Linked DNA regions of Homo sapiens: region 1 is linked to region 2. The links are contacts of gene promoters, found by promoter capture Hi-C in blood cells and fetal thymus (Javierre and others, 2016). All regions are on one chromosome and are shown on one strand. Each heading gives the region's core, a stretch centred on a gene start or on the middle of the fragment in contact. The rest is flanking DNA. Distances are from core to core; before and after follow the strand shown.

Evidence for each region. Contacts are between HindIII fragments. The CHiCAGO score rates a contact against its expected background, and 5 or more counts as called.
Region 1: a fragment that was not itself captured here is called in contact with the fragment with the promoter of B4GAT1 in region 2 in 1 of 17 cell types (M2 macrophages); the score reaches 5.0 in M2 macrophages.

Annotation. Positions count from the first base shown.
Region 1 is chr11:66,801,022-66,803,721 of GRCh38, reverse strand. TOP6BL (TOP6B like initiator of meiotic double strand breaks) reads right to left here. Exons shown (of 15, transcript NM_001302084.2): 6 at 2,620-2,691. Among named protein-coding and RNA genes, the nearest start is that of RCE1, 41 kb to the left of the region's middle. The HindIII fragment of the contact is 3,787 bases long and covers 1-2,700 here.
Region 2 is chr11:66,346,287-66,348,986 of GRCh38, reverse strand. It overlaps B4GAT1 (beta-1,4-glucuronyltransferase 1), which reads left to right and starts at 1,358. Exons shown (of 2, transcript NM_006876.3): 1 at 1,358-2,497. The coding sequence starts at 1,442. It overlaps B4GAT1-DT (B4GAT1 divergent transcript), which reads right to left and starts at 996. Exons shown (of 2, transcript NR_135761.1): 1 at 917-996. It overlaps TRS-GCT3-1 (tRNA-Ser (anticodon GCT) 3-1), which reads right to left and starts at 867; the gene lies at 786-867. RefSeq lists an enhancer at 198-698 and a silencer at 725-1,314. The HindIII fragment of the contact is 12,978 bases long and covers 1-2,700 here.

The DNA.
Region 1 (2,700 bases), core at 32-2,531, 450 kb before region 2:
CAGGCATTGTGGCTCATGCCTGTAATCCCAGCACTTTGGGAGGCTGAGGTGGGTGGATCACTTGAGGTCAGGAGTTCAAGACCAACCTGGCCAACATGGTGAAACTCCATCTCTACTAAAGATACAATAGCTGTGCATGATGGTGCACACCTGTAATCCCAGCTATTCAGGAGGCTGAGGCAGGAGAATCGCTTGAACCTGGGAAGCGGAGGTTGCAGTGAGCTGATATTGCGCCACTGCACTCCAGCCTGAGCAACAGAGCGAGACTTTGTCTCGAAAAATAATTACTATTATTTTATTTTATTAGAGATGGGGTCTCACTATGTTTATTAGGCTGGTCTCAAACTCCTGGCCTCAAGCAATCTTTCTGCCTTGGCCTCCCAAAGTGCTGGGACTACAGGTGTGAGATATCATGACCAGCCTGTTTCTTATTCTCAAGTATACTTCCTCCACTAAAATTAATCTTTGGTTCTGAGCAAATTTCCAAATTCATTCAAAGGTCAGCATTGTGTGAGGGGGCCCATGAATCACAAATGGCCTAAAACTGGCCCCATGATACTTATAAGTCTGCTCTCACGCATGCTACACCTTCCGCTGAAGAGGTCTGAGGTTGCTGTTTGATAGTAACAATGAGAAAAAACCAGGCCATCTTTCTCTCCTAGAAAGAATCTAGTAAAATTTTGTTACTTTCCAATAGCTCTTTTCTAAACAGAGAGAAAACAGTCAACCTGAGAAAGCTGATTAAGAATGAATGAATTAATTAATAGAGAGGAAATATTAATGAACCTTTCCCTTTGTCTCTAATCAGGTCATCCAAGGAAACACATCTACAAAAATTGGCTCAAAGGCTTAAACTTGTGTCAGTACAACTATGATGATGAGCTGCTACCTGTAAGGATTGTTTATTATTAGAGGATCACTAAAGAAAGATATGGGGTGGGGAAATTATTACCTGCATATTAAATGACAAAAATATTCTCATCTGAGGTGTAATTTTGGGTGAGAATAAGAAAACAGACTAAGAACCACAGGCAGTCTCTTTAAGCCTTAAGAGACTTTGACTACTAGTGTTGCCTCTGGGCACATAAATAGAGGCAGAAACTAATGAATAAAGACTAAATTAGGGCTGGACACATTGGCTCACATCTGTAATCCCAGCTCTTTGAAAGGCCGAGGCAGGAGGATTGCTTGAGTCCAGGAGTTTGACACCAGCCTAGGCAACAACCTCATCTCTACAAAAAAAAATTTTTTTTAAATTAGCAGTATATGGGCTGGGCGCAGTGGCTCATGCCTGTAATCTCAGCACTTTGGGAGACCGAGGCAGGAGGATCACGAGGTCAGGAGATTGAGACCATCCTGGCCAACATGGTGAAACCCCATTTCTACTAAAAATACAAAAAAATTAGCTGGGCGTGGTGGCATGCACCTATAGTCCCAGCTACTCAGGAGATTGAGGCAGGAGAATCGCTTGAACCAGGGAGGTGGAGGTTGCAGTGAGGTGAGATCTGCACTCCAGCCTGGGCGAAAGAGCGAGACTCCGTCTCAAAAAAAAAAAAAATTAGCAGCGTATGGTAGCATATTTCTGTGGTCCTAGCTACTAGCTACTCGAGAGGCTGAGGTGGGAAAATGACTTGAGCCCAGGAGACCAAGGCTGCAGTGAGCTATGATGGCATCTGGGTTGAACAGACTGAGACCCTGTCTCAAAAAAAGAAAAAATAAATTAATTGGACTTAAGCATATGTTAGGTCTTTTCTTGACATAATTCATTTTCACTTTGGATTCTGTGGTAGTTAAATGGCACAGGAAGGCAAGACAGAAGGGCTCTGTGTGTTCCATATTGTTTACCACCTCCTCCATGGATTTTTTACATTTTTTATTTATTTATTTTTTTTGAGACAGAGTCTTGCTCTGTCGCTGGAGTGCAGTGGCGTGATCTCGGCTCACTGCAACCTCCACCTCCTGGGTTCAAGTGATTCTCATGCTTTGGCCTCCCAAGTAGCTGGGATTACAGGCATGTGCTACCATGCCCAGCTAATTTTTGTATTTTTAGCAGAGACAGGGTTTTGCCATGTTGGCCAGGCTGGTCTCAAACTCTTAACCTCAAGTGATCCATCAACTTCAGCCTCCCAAAGTGCTGGGATTATAGGCATGAGCCACTGCGCCTGGCCAGATTTACTTTCTTGGAGTCTGAAGAAGATGGAGATGGGCAGAGAGATGATTTCCAAACCTATGCAAAATGCTGATGCACAGAAAATAATGTACACTGAATTCCTTTGTATTCATACTATCTCTCTAGCCAAGAATTCAAGTAAAGTTTTAAATTCATAGTCTTCTCTTCTCATGCCTAAATGGGATTGGAACTAGCAGGGTCTGTGTAAAATAAGGCCTGAAGAGAAGAAGGCACATGTCTTCAGGTCATTTAGAATAGATTCAAATACATAAATAACTTAAAATAGCAGTTTTCAACATAAAAAAAAGTTTTACTTCTGCTTTTCTTATAGAGAAGCTGACACCTGGCACTTACAAATGACAAGTGAGACAATTTCCAATTTCTACCCACATTCGTACTCGAGAGGAGAGTAAAACATGCAGAGGGACAACAAGGCTTTACGCCTTCACCTCACATAATGCTGGGAGTCGACCAAAAGAGCAATTCCATTCCCAAGGTTCAAAGTGGGTTCATTCTCCACCCTGCAAAGC
Region 2 (2,700 bases), core at 109-2,608:
GCGGTGGCTCACACCTGTAATCCCAGCACTTTGGGAGGCCGAGGTGGGCGGATCAGGAGGTCAGGAGATCCGAGACCATCCTGGCTAACACGGTGAAACTCCGTCTCTGCTAAAAATACAAAAAATTAGCCGGGCGTGCTGCATGCGCTAGTAGTCCCAGCTACTCGGGGCTGAGGCAGGAGAATCGCTTGAACCTGGAAGGCAGAGGTTGCAGTGAGCCGAGATCGCGCCACTGCGCTCCAGCCTGGGCGACAGAGCGAGAATCCGCCTCAAAAAAAAAAAAAAAAAAAAAAAAAGAGATTGTGTGTGTTGGGGAGCAGGGCATGTGGACACAAGGTCTCCGCCCTAGGAGAAGTGCTGGAGAGTAGGACAAGTACCACTACTTCGGACGGGGAGGGCGATGCCTCCAATGGGGGGCTTCCCTGATTCCTGCAGATCATACGTTGGCCCCCAACTTCACACTGGCCAGAATCCCGGTTCTAGTCTTTTCCGTGCCACCAACCCCTGGGCCCTCTTTCTAGAAGGAAAGAAAACACCTTTGGCCTCTGCCCAGAGCTACAGACACCTGAAGTAGGAGCAGGCAGGAGATGCGTGGTGGATAAAGACCAGAGAGACTTGGGATCGAATTCCACTCTCACCCCCAGTTCAGTTTTCTTCAGCTTGCTGCTCCACAGGCAGGATGTGAAAATTTAGATGCCTCACCCCTCGCACCTCCAGCTTGCTGCTCCAAATAGGCAGGATGTGAAAATGTAGATGCTTCCCCCCCAACCTCTATAAAACAGGGCCGACGAGGATGGGATTCGAACCCACGCGTGCAAAGCACAATGGATTAGCAGTCCATCGCCTTAACCACTCGGCCACCTCGTCCTACGTGACAGGTTTGTCCACATTCACTTATCTCTCATCTACTCCGCACCTTCCAAGCACTACCACGTAAGTCGCAACGCAGACCTCTTCGGACACAGGGAAAGAAGAAGCCGCGGAAGGAAGGGAGCGTTTTGATTTCCTTTCTGCTGAGCCCGCGCCATCCTTTACCACGCTGCAGCCGAGCTCTGCCGCGGTTTCCCTCCGAGTCCGGCCGAGCGCGCCGCGCGTTCAGGGCGCGCCCGGTCCAGGGTGCGCGCGCCGGCGGGGAGGGAGAGGAGTGCGTCCCGGGAAGCCGGCGGGGCCCGGGCGGGCGGGCGTCTGCACGGCGCGCGGCCGAGCGGCGGGGCCGTGGCTCCTCCTCCCTCGTAGGGGGCGAGCCGGCGCGCCGGGGGCTGGGGGCGGTGGCGGGCGGCGGGCGGCGGGCGGCGGGCGGCGGGCGGGGCGGCGCTCGGGGCTCGGCTGGCCTCGGCTCGCCTCGGCTGCGCTCGGCAGGCTGCGGTAAATCCGGGCTTGCGGCCGCTGGCGTAGTCTGTGGCCGGGTGGTCGTTGCTGCGCGCCCCGAGCCCCGAGAGCCATGCAGATGTCCTACGCCATCCGGTGCGCCTTCTACCAGCTGCTGCTGGCCGCGCTCATGCTGGTGGCGATGCTGCAGCTGCTCTACCTGTCGCTGCTGTCCGGACTGCACGGGCAGGAGGAGCAAGACCAATATTTTGAGTTCTTTCCCCCGTCCCCACGGTCCGTGGACCAGGTCAAGGCGCAGCTCCGCACCGCGCTGGCCTCTGGAGGCGTCCTGGACGCTAGCGGCGATTACCGCGTCTACAGGGGCCTGCTGAAGACCACCATGGACCCCAACGATGTGATCCTGGCCACGCACGCCAGCGTGGACAACCTGCTGCACCTGTCGGGTCTGCTGGAGCGCTGGGAGGGCCCGCTGTCCGTGTCGGTGTTCGCGGCCACCAAGGAGGAGGCGCAGCTGGCCACGGTGCTGGCCTACGCGCTGAGCAGCCACTGCCCCGACATGCGCGCCAGGGTCGCCATGCACCTCGTGTGCCCCTCGCGTTACGAGGCAGCCGTGCCCGACCCCCGGGAGCCGGGGGAGTTTGCCCTGCTGCGGTCCTGCCAGGAGGTCTTTGACAAGCTAGCCAGGGTGGCCCAGCCCGGGATTAATTATGCGCTGGGCACCAATGTCTCCTACCCCAATAACCTGCTGAGGAATCTGGCTCGTGAGGGGGCCAACTATGCCCTGGTGATCGATGTGGACATGGTGCCCAGCGAGGGGCTGTGGAGAGGCCTGCGGGAAATGCTGGATCAGAGCAACCAGTGGGGAGGCACCGCGCTGGTGGTGCCTGCCTTCGAAATCCGAAGAGCCCGCCGCATGCCCATGAACAAAAACGAGCTGGTGCAGCTCTACCAGGTTGGCGAGGTGCGGCCCTTCTATTATGGGTTGTGCACCCCCTGCCAGGCACCCACCAACTATTCCCGCTGGGTCAACCTGCCGGAAGAGAGCTTGCTGCGGCCCGCCTACGTGGTACCTTGGCAGGACCCCTGGGAGCCATTCTACGTGGCAGGAGGCAAGGTGCCCACCTTCGACGAGCGCTTTCGGCAGTACGGCTTCAACCGAATCAGCCAGGTGCTCATAAGGGAGAGGGCAGGGGTAATGGGGCAGGAGGGGTGGTGGGATCAGGGAGTTATGAGGAGTGGCCCTGGATGGAAAGGAGGCAATGAAGCAGGAGGGATCATAGTTCAGGAGGTGGGTGGATGGTGTGGAAGATCCAGGATACTTCCAGAGGGGTGAGGACGCTGGACTGTGGCTTTAGGGAAGTCAGTCTCAGG